Linked DNA regions of Homo sapiens: regions 1 and 2 are each linked to region 3. Evidence: promoter capture Hi-C in human tissues and cell types (Jung and others, 2019). All regions are on one chromosome and are shown on one strand. The core of a region is centred on a gene start or on the middle of the fragment in contact, and the rest is flanking DNA. Distances in the headings are between cores, read along the strand shown.

What was found. Contacts are between HindIII fragments. The study calls those that stand out against the background at their distance.
Region 1: a fragment that was not itself captured here is called in contact with the fragment with the promoter of GPC5 in region 3 in 1 of the 25 tissues and cell types used here (dorsolateral prefrontal cortex).
Region 2: a contact is called between a fragment that was not itself captured here and the fragment with the promoter of GPC5 in region 3, in 2 of the 25 tissues and cell types used here (dorsolateral prefrontal cortex and lymphoblastoid cells).

The regions. Positions count from the first base shown.
Region 1 is chr13:91,739,074-91,742,653 of GRCh38, forward strand. The region is part of intron 4 of GPC5 (glypican 5); the gene reads left to right. Among named protein-coding and RNA genes, the nearest start is that of GPC5, 340 kb to the left of the region's middle. The HindIII fragment of the contact is 3,119 bases long and covers 353-3,471 here.
Region 2 is chr13:91,660,373-91,663,684 of GRCh38, forward strand. All of the region lies in intron 2 of GPC5 (glypican 5), which reads left to right. Among named protein-coding and RNA genes, the nearest start is that of GPC5, 260 kb to the left of the region's middle. The HindIII fragment of the contact is 3,363 bases long and covers 1-3,218 here.
Region 3 is chr13:91,397,130-91,400,644 of GRCh38, forward strand. GPC5 (glypican 5) reads left to right here and starts at 1,492. Exons shown (of 8, transcript NM_004466.6): 1 at 1,492-2,080. The coding sequence starts at 1,918. LOC124903189 (a long non-coding RNA gene) reads left to right here. Exons shown (of 2, transcript XR_007063831.1): 1 at 1-32; 2 at 217-459. RefSeq lists silencers at 1,306-1,600, 1,307-1,576. The HindIII fragment of the contact is 16,121 bases long and covers 1-3,515 here.

The sequences.
Region 1 (3,580 bases), core at 662-3,161, 340 kb after region 3:
CAAGGTCTTGAATTGTACATTGTTGCCAATTAACATTTTAAAAATGAAAATGTCTAAGCCATCGTTAAGTTCATGACTGAGCCCTCATTAACTTCATAACATTACACGTTGTGTCTAAGTGGTATGGAAAGTGTAGTGGAACAAATATAATATGAGAAATAACTAAGGTTGTGGGTGCTGCTGTTGGCCCTACTCATATCCTCTTCACCTGGCCCTTTTACCTGCCTCCTGGCTGCTGTGTTCCAACTCATAGCTGCTCTAGTCCCTGGGAAATTGCCTTCAACAAATAGGAGCCATTGGTATTATTTCTTATCTATTGCAATCTAACAAATCATTCCAAAACGTAGTGGCTTAAACCAACCATAAGCATTTATTATCCTATTTTCTGTTAGGAATTTGGGAGCTAATTAGTTGCGGGGTTCATGCTCAGGGTCATTAGAGAGACTGCTGTCAAGAAGGCAGCTAGGGCTGTGGTCATCTGAAAGCTCAAGTGGGGCTGGAGTATCATCTCCCAAGATTGCTTGCTCACATGGCTGTTGGTGGGAGGCCTCCGTTTGTTGTCACAGTGACCTCTCCATAGGACTGCTTGAGTGTCTTCACATTGCGGCTAACTTCCCTCAGAACAAGAAATCTAAGAGAGAGCAAGGCAGAGGCTGCCGTCTTATATGAGCTGGACTCAGAAATCACATACTATTGTTTTTGCAATATTCCATAGGTTACACAGGTCATCCCTCTTCATTGTAGAAGGGGACTATGCAAAGGCATGAGGGATGAAACTGTGGGGAGTTATCATGGAGACTGGCTCTCATCCATCTCATCCACCTGTGGAAAGGGATTAGACTGCCACCTACCTCAGGCTCTTGGCAGCAACTTACAGGCAATGACTGACTGACACAGGGATAGAAGAGGCTTGCCCCTTGCTTCAAGGTGTGGGACCAAACCTGGTGAAATGCATGCTTCAGTGCTTCTTGTGGTATCTGGCTGAAGCTGAGCCCACATCCCCACTTAGCTTCTTCCGCCACACCTGCCCTTGCTTCCCTTTCTCGCTTTTACCTAAAAGCACTCCCTGATGAGTTGCCTGCATACTGATTACTGTCTTAGGCACTGCTTCTAGGGAATCTGACCTAGAGATGCCTGAATTTTTAAAGGTACCTAAAATAAATGCAGAATGAGAGTAAGTGAAGGCAGGATTACAGTATCCTCTCCTTAGGATAGAGAAATCTCTTAATATTCCCAAGTTCCTAACCATTTTTTTCTCCCTGTTTTTCTATATTCATTTCACAGAGGTCCCTTCTGTTAAATACATTGCTTTTTCCTTGTTTTGCTTCTAACATTTGAAGAAGGAAAATTTCCTTATTCCTGGATAAGAGTTGTGCTAAGCTCCTTTGTGGACATTGTGAGTCTTCTTTTAGCTTGGAGAGAGGGGAGCTAAACCATAGAGTTGGATTCTTTTATTTTGGAGACGTAATTGTCCTGATTCAATTTCCCCAATCCATTTCTGTTTATATAGCATGCTAATAATGTGCACATCAAAGACCCTGAGTGATTGATACATACCAGTTACGGAGGTCTCCAAAGTTGAGCAAAGTAAGGAAGAGCTACTGCTCCTTTAAACAGCCAGCAAAGCATCACAATTTTCCCTTTTTGAGCAGAGACCAAATCAACACAGCTGTAAAGGACATTGCGCTCATATAGTTGTCTAAAGCAGGCCAGGCAGAGTGATTTCCCTGTGGCAGTTCCTGCTCTCTGCTTGATTTCTTGAAGTTAGCTGGTAAGAATAAGCTATTAGCAAGCTTAAATCGGTGATAATTAGCTGTACATTATTATTTCAAAGTGGTGTGGCTGTGCCAATTAAGTAGGTAATTAGGAAAACCCCAGGACAATAAATTAAGATGGAGTCTCAACACCAGTGCCCCATCTGTTCTCCAGCAAGCATTCCAATTAGCCAGGCCTCTCATTTCAGAATGCATGATTAAGGGGATTGGCTGCATGCATGAGTGTGTATTTGCATAATAGGGAGTGTCCTAGGTGCTTAGTAAAAATAAGATATTTTTACTATCAGACAGGATTTTGATGTCAAGGTGGGGAATGCAGAATTTTTAGAAATATTGGATTTTTTTGAAACAAAATATAAATTTTGAGTTTTTTTCAATTTTGTCTTCAGAACTTAATTGAAATATTATATCATTAGACATTTCCAGTTCATTCTAATGCATTTATTAAATCGTGATTTGAGTGAGAATTTTATCACTTGGAACATTAACAGTTTTATTTATTAAGAACAGAAAGCAAAGAGGACACTTGAAATTGCAGTTTAATGAAAGAAATGAGGCAGGGCATGATTCTCATTCAGAATGTCACTGTCAACTAAAGTAAATTAATATCCTGTACATTACAGAAAAACACAGGGAAGTGTTCAAAATAATTAAACGTGGGAAAAAATTTTAAATGTTTATTCAGTGAAGAACACTTAATGTTATTTAAGATTATTGCTAAGGTAGATAGATTCATATTAAATGGCATCAGTTAGTTTAAAATGCATAGAGTTTATAATAAAAAAACATAGAGCTTATAGTTACATAGTCAAATCTTATCTAATACAACACTTTATTAATGAATCCAAAGTTAAATTTAAAAATTCTTGATATTACACACTGAGTATATATGTTTGTTTAGATGGTAAATCAGTATTGAGATATACTGGACTTAATGATGAATTGTATATACAAATATTCAGTGGATGAAAATATTCATAGGTCTGAAAAAATAGTCGATTCTTTCAGAAAAATTTAATATCATTTATAGTAGCAGAGAAAGCAGTTTACAATCTATTTCCTCGTAAGTGAAAGTTAGTGCGTCTTTGAGGTGCCATCATTATTTATTACCTGTAAACTTAACTTGTGAAAATAAAGGTCATGTTTTCAATGAAAAAAAATCTGCTTAATGTAAAACAGTGCTTGTTAGGTGGTGGTACTGAGGGCTTCCAGAGCAGGGCAGGCCAAGACAAAGCTTTGGATAGGAGGCCAGAGCAGGTATGGAGGGAACATGAGCTCATGAGCTACAAGGCAGGCCAGAGTCAAGACCTACATGAATAATGAAGATCAGGACCTGCAGGGGGTCAAACTACAGGCGCACAGGAAAAGCAAATGCCAGAAGGCAGAGCAAACATATGGCAAAAGTTCAGGCTAGTGGTTCTTAACCTTTGGGGATCATGTATCCCACTGAGAATCCCATGAATGTTCCCAGAAAAAGAAAGTTCACAGACAAATCCATGCAGAATTTTGTTGCATTGAAAAGTACTTTGCTCCACCTAAAACTAATATTAAAAACAGAAAATGTTTTAAAAATGCTCTTACTTTCTAGATGTTCATGAAAAAATTAATGGCCATTTCATGAATCATCTTAAATGAAATCCACATAGTAGAAAATTATATTATGCACACTAGTCCTGAAAGAAGAGGCAGGTTCAACTATTTGGCACGAACTAGAAGTTGACATTGCAGTTGGTCTTGGATGTGGCTACGTGCCCATATGTTTGGTATTCAACAGATGCCCACTTTTTGTTTTGAGGGTAACAATT
Region 2 (3,312 bases), core at 287-2,786, 260 kb after region 3:
CACATAAGTGAGCCTGGAAGCAAATATCTGAGGCCTGCCAATAATCACATGATTGAGCTTGGAAGCAGATCCTCACCCAGTGAAGCTTGGAGATGACTGCATTCCCGGCAGATTCCCTGAACATAACCTTGTAGAAGATCCTCAGCTGAGACTCTTCCTGTAAGTTACTGTCTGATTTCTGACAAATAGAATCTATGCAATAATAAATATTTGTTGTCATCAACCACTAAATTTTGGGATCATCTGTTTGCAGCAATAGTTAACTAATACAGATGGGAAGGATATGGTCTTTTGTTAATCAGATCACCAGGAAATTTAGCTCAAGGATTTCAGGTAGGTTTATCTGGAAGGCATAGACAATTGTAGTATTTCTCAGAAGGGACCATTTCTATCTCAGAAATACAAAATCTAAGTCAGAAAGTTAAGTCACTACTCCTTCTTAAACCTTCTCCTCCTTCTCTATTATTTTATTTAATGAAATCATTTACCCCACCCACTGGCTAAAAAAATCTCTAGTCTTCTTTGATTTTTGAACCAAATATTTAGTATCTACTATGTACAAGGCAATGTGCTGTCACTTAGAATGGAACACAATTACTTGCTCTTGTGGAGCTTACATTCTTTTGAGAAAAAAATATAAAAGAAATAATAAACATATTACTTGTGTGTGGAATAAGGGCAGATTCTACATCCTTGCAGGGGTAGAATAGGCTTTGTTGATACACACTGTAAGGCAAGGGTCACCGAGAGAAGTATGGGTCCCCTGATTCTTCCACAGTCTGGCAGGGCCTTCTGCTGGCCATGCAGTGGATCTGGGTTGCGGTGAAGGGACATCACCCTCTGTTGCTTTTCTTTCTTACTGTGATGGCATGTGGACAACTTTGCTGGCTGTTGGAATGACTATTTGAGCAGAATATCTGGGCAGCATTTTAGAATTGTTTTTTGAAAAAGCCAGATGTTCGATACCTGGTAACCCTGGGAATTTTCAGGCCCTCATTCCAGGAGAAGATGCCCCTGGGCATGTGGATTTCCATGGGGCCTGAGTTCAGGTGCAGCCCCTCCAGCCAGGATTGGGGGCAGGTTCCTCTGTCCCTCATCAAGAACTCTTAGGTTTACTTTCTGGCAATTATGCTTGTTGCATTGCCATAATAAATAAGTCATTTATGCAATGCATTATGTGATAAGTACTGTGGGGAAAAAAAAGTAGAACCTTCTACATAGGGCTTGAGAGTGGGTTATATTAAATAGATCTACTGGAGAAAACCTCATTGAGAAGGTGACATTGGCACAGAGAATTGAAAGAGGCCATGAGGACATCTAGGGAAGAATATTCCTGAGAGTTGGGGGAAAGTCTGTAAGTCAAGAATGTCCTTGGTGTGTTTAAAGGACTGTAAGGAAGCCAGCATAGCCAGACTGGAATCAGAGAAAGTGAGAGAATTAGGAGAGGAAGTGAGAGAAGCAACGAGGGGTCAGATCATTCAGGGCCCTGTGGGACTTTTTAAGAACGCTATTGTTACTTCAAGTGGAGTGGGGAACAGTCATAAAGTTGTCAGCAATGAACTGGCACGGTCTTATGTCTTAGAAATTTCATTAAACTGCTGTTTTGAGCACAGTCTAGACATGTCTAGAGTTCAGACAAGAGATCTAGGCTGGAGATACACAATTGGGAGTCATTGGCTCACATATGGTATTTAAAGCTATGAGATTGGATGAGATCATCAAAAAGTGAGTGAAACAGAGGGAAGAAGAGAACTGAGGCAGGAGCCCTGGGACCTTTTCAATTAGAAGGATGGAGGAAGAGAAGGAAACAGCCAAAGAGGCTGAGAAAAACATGACCAGTAAGGTTGGCAGAAGGAAGACCAAGAAAGTAGAGTATATTGGAAATCAAGTAAAGAAAATGTATTAAGGAGGAGGGAATGAGAGACCGCCAAATGTTGCTGACATGTCACCTATGATGAGGACTGAAATTCACCAACTGATTTGGCAATCAAATGGAAGTCACTGGTGAAGTTTGCAGGATTAATTTGGTGAAGTAGAGGTGACATCTTGATAAAAGTCAGTTTTATAGAGAATTGGAAAGAGAATTGGAGAGAATGATAATGTATAAATCTTGAGTAATTTTGATACAAAGAGCTGCAGAAAATTGGGGCAGTAAAAGTATGAGAAGAATTTTTCCCCTTATGATCTAAGTAATAAATCTCTTAACTGGTGCGAACATTTAGATATCTAATCTTGTTCCCTCATTCAGTTTTATCTTTTAATATTATTTTCTTCCATCTCCTATTGTTATTACCCCAGGGATTTTCATTTGGTTCTGTATTGTTTCTCACCTGGACTATTACCCTAGTATCTTGCTGTGCTCATTATTACCATATTACCATCTCACTACTCCCATAGTATCTTCCTGCTTCCAAGGAATGCTCCATTACTCCTGCTGGCACTCTCTCCAAAACATATACTACCTGTGATGTCATTACTCTTTCAAGCTTAAGTCATCCAATGACTTTCCAAACACAGCTTGGCTACAGCTGCTATGCATGCTGGAATTCCAGCAAAACAGAGAGAGATGGATAAATCAGAGCTGTGAGAGGAAACTGGAACTAGATTTTGTGTAAGGCTAGCCTGCAAGATGGGGAAGGCAGCTACAGCTACTGTTGCCTCACTTACAATGTCTAAGAGGTTGTGGGGAGGAGAGATCTTAATCAAGATCTTCTAGTAGTGGAAGGCTTGATTTTCTAGGTAAGAATACAAACGTTCTTGACTTATTCTCTCCAGTACTTAGTTCAGTATGGTTATATTCAATATTGGATTTGCGGCCACAGACAATTGTAAAGACCCATATTTGGGGGAACATAAGATTCCTAATATTTTGCCAGGTTTAGTTCTCATTATTTCAGTTTTTAGTTACATATGGAAGGTTTTCAGGTCAAGCATTACATGACATTTATTTCCTCACTCCGTGTACATACCAATATATGCTTGTCCATGTTGTGAGTATACCTACATTTTGCTGTATAAATATATGTGCTTATTATTCTTATATTTTAGCCTCTTTTTTCCCCCTGAATTTGAAACTGATTTTGTTTCTTTGCTTTTCTTTTTAGAGACAGGGTCTCACTCTCTCATTCAGGCTGGAGTGCAGTGGCATGTTCAAAGCTCACTGTAACTTCATATTCCTAGGCTCAAGTGATCCCCCTGCCTCAGCCTCTCGAGTAGCTAGGACTACAGGTGTGAGCCACCACACCTGGCTAATTAAAAACATTTTTTTTTTTGTAAAGACTGGGTCTCACTATGTTGCCAAGGATGGTCTCT
Region 3 (3,515 bases), core at 242-2,741:
TTTCTGGCTTTGTCACTTACCTTAGGCATTCAGTAAGTCACTTCACCTCTGTGTTCCTGTTTCCTCATCTGTAAAACAATGATAATAGTAGTAACTACTTTATAAGGTTGTTATAAAGATTACATGAGTGAATTCATTTCCATAAAATACTTAGAATATTATCTGGCCCATAAGCACTATATACATTCTCATGGTTTTTCTTGTTTCTTTTCATAGATATAGGTGGCTTCCAGACAATCTTTCCATACTTGGTGGTTAGAGCAGAAGAGATTCATGAAGAGCACTGCCCTTTGAAACAAAATCTCATATTCAGAAAACTGATGCCAAACACCAAGTAGCATGATTTCACTCTGAAGCAGTGTTTCAGCCATTGCCCTGGAATGGTTTTAAAGCAAGTGATATACTGCTGAAAGTGCTGCCTTTGATATTAAATGTTCATTAAAAATCTTCACTAAGACATAAAGTTTTTCACTACTATCTCTTGGTAAGGGTTCAAATTTGAGATGAAATTCCTTAAAGTGGTTAAAGCATTCATTGTCCCCTCTGCCTGATGCTTTTAACTAGTTTATTTTACAGAAGGAGTACTCTCTTCAAGTGGCTGTAGATTGAGACACTCTTACAGGCTTAGTTGTTGAGTCAACCACATTTAAAAAATGCACCTGCCCTTTGGTTTATGGTGCGTAATGCATTCCTCTCATAAACTGTAAATTGACAAAATTCCTTTGCCATTTTAAAATTGCTTAAAGTATTTATTTTTCTATATTCCTTGTAAGGAACTCCCCTGAGCACTCTTAACTTAATTGCTCTCTGAAAAATATTTTAAAGAAATTCCAGAAGTGGTAAAGCTCAGAGGAGCCCCACAAATACAAAGTGCTGAAGTAAAATATGATGCTAAATGGTGATAAGAGACTTAAAACTAGATTTCATTGTGATAAGAATGTGATAAAGTTTGATTGTAATTCTTATACCTCCTTTCAGAAAATCATGTTATAGAAAAATGTTCCTAAGCAGTAAAACAAAGCCATTTTAAAAAATAACTTCTCATGTGCACTCTTTAACAACCTAAGTGTTATGAAGTCTCTCAATTGAGATCTTTAACCGTAAATAGTTTTTGCCTTTTGTATTATGTCCAGATCCTATTTAATGCAATTAGAATACAAATTCCTATGTACTGAGGACCTTGATTACATAGATGAGATATTTCTTAGTTCCAGTTGGTGTTTCTCATCTCTTGTCTTCTCTGACCCTATTTATACATTCTCTGTTTTTATCAGATGATTCTTCCCCAGAACGGACTGGGAGAGCGAGGTCCGGGTTTCCTTCTATTTATTTGCATCGATGTCGCTCCGAGTCTTCAGCACTGGGCCGCGTATGACAGCATCTTAGTGGGTGCGGAGCGGGACAGCGCGCCGGGGGCGTGGCAGGGGCGTGGCCTGTCCGCGGGGCGGGGAGTGCGGGGCGGGGCTTCCGCGGAGCGCAGCGAGCGGGCACATCCCAGGTTAGCTGCTGCGAGCCGAGCCGGGCGGCGGAGGCGGCGGCGGCGGCGGCAGTGGCGGCAGTGGCGGCAGTGGCGGCAGCGGCAGCAGTTGCAGCAGTGGTGGCCAGAGCGGATGCTTGCGGGCTCCCTGCGGCTCCACTAGTTTTCTTCGCCCCGCCCAGCCGCCCACTCTTCTCGGCTAGGGAAGAAGACCAGAGGGTGCTCAGCTGGAAAACTCTGGTGTCTCAGCTTAGGGCCTCCTCCGGGAAGAGCTAACTGCTCCCAGGTGAAGCCGGTGCCCGCGGGCGGTCCGTACACCCCGCAGCCGGCTCGCACCGCTCGAGAGCCTCGGCCGCTGTGTCTTCCACGTCTGCAGCTCAGCCAGGGCGCGCAGGGCGAGTGGGGTCCACTGGCGGGTAAAGGGGACCAGGACGGCGAGGATGGACGCACAGACCTGGCCCGTGGGCTTTCGCTGCCTCCTCCTTCTGGCCCTGGTTGGGTCCGCCCGCAGCGAGGGCGTGCAGACCTGCGAAGAAGTTCGGAAACTTTTCCAGTGGCGGCTGCTGGGAGCTGTCAGGGGGCTGCCGGATTCGCCGCGGGCAGGTAAGGGGCAATGAGGGGGTCTCTGGACTGGCGGCGTCCGAGCCCGGCCTTCGCTCCCCCAGGCTCCCTTGGTGGCACTCGTGGGAAGATGACCTTTCGGGCCCTGCAGCCGCGCAGGGTGAATCCCGGGGAGGCTTCCGGGGATGCTTGGTGCGGGTAGCCTGAGTGCAGCGCAGCGCAGCTCTGGGGACCCCTAACCAAGCCTGCGACGAATCCCCGTTCTGGGCATCTGCTTCCCGCCCGGCTCCCTTCGTCTTGGAGGATGAGTTGGAAGGAACCAGGAAAGCAGACATCAGGGCGTGGGGGACACGCAGTCTAACTCCGTTTCTCTTCCGAGTAGGAATTTCCCCAGTGCCCCACCGGGGATTTCGGTTTACTGCTTTCTCATAAGGTGGAGGGAATTGAATTGATCGCCCCAAGTTTGGTACTAAAAATCACAAACCTGCGATATACCCCTTTGCTGGAGAATGGGGCACAGACAAGGGCAGCCGGTCTCCTCTGTAATTAGGACTTGGACCCTGTGCACCCAGAGACGTGACCCTTAGCTGCCCTTCTGTGCCCTCGTATCAAGCCCTGCTTGGAGGAAACCCAACCACCCAGTGTGTCTCCCAGCACCAAGGTAGTTTTTAGCCTGAAAAGTGTTAGGGCAACAGGCGATCAAACCGAACGTACTGGGGAGTCACTTGACATGGATGAGATGTACCAGCGTTCCAAAGGGAAAGATACAGTTTGTGTGGCCAGCGTGGATCTTGCTTCCTGTGAGCGCCTTTTGCCTGTGCTTTCGAACCCTGCTCCCCGTTTCCACCGCACCAATTTCCTTCTGCTGGTGGGAGTTCCAGTGTAGGTTCTGTCTGGAAGAATAGGTCATAGCTGTCAAACGCAATAGCAGGTGTCTAGAGCTAAGTAAGATCTCACTAGAGCCATGCACCCCTTTAGCTGTGACTATGAAGCCAACACAGACGAATCTGTGAGGTTACTGGTTGAACAAAGAACTTGTGGAGGACGCTTAAGTCTAAAGTCCCGAGTTTCCAGGGTTGGGGGACTTGCTTGTAGCAATGAGGAAGTGTGAGCTGTAGCCGCTTTTCTTGATTGCTTTGCTCAATTTTAAGTCATCCCAGAAAGAAAATCTAGGCATTCGGGAACACTGACTCCATTTGAGTTTACATGACCAGTCTTAAACCCAGCTATTTCTTTGTATACCTGTTTGGTACTAGGTGCTTTTTCTGTATTACTTGAAACAAAGTTGACATTCTCAGTTTAGGGCGATTCTTCTATCCCCAAATAAAATATCGCCTTATAGATCTGTATTTTTCTTAGTGCATTCTTTTCATTAGGAAATAAATCTCACTTTATTGGCTGCTGATAAAACTAAAGTGAGTTTGTGCGTGTGGGTGGTGAGGGTGTTATGATGTGAGATCTTTACCTGAATTATTAG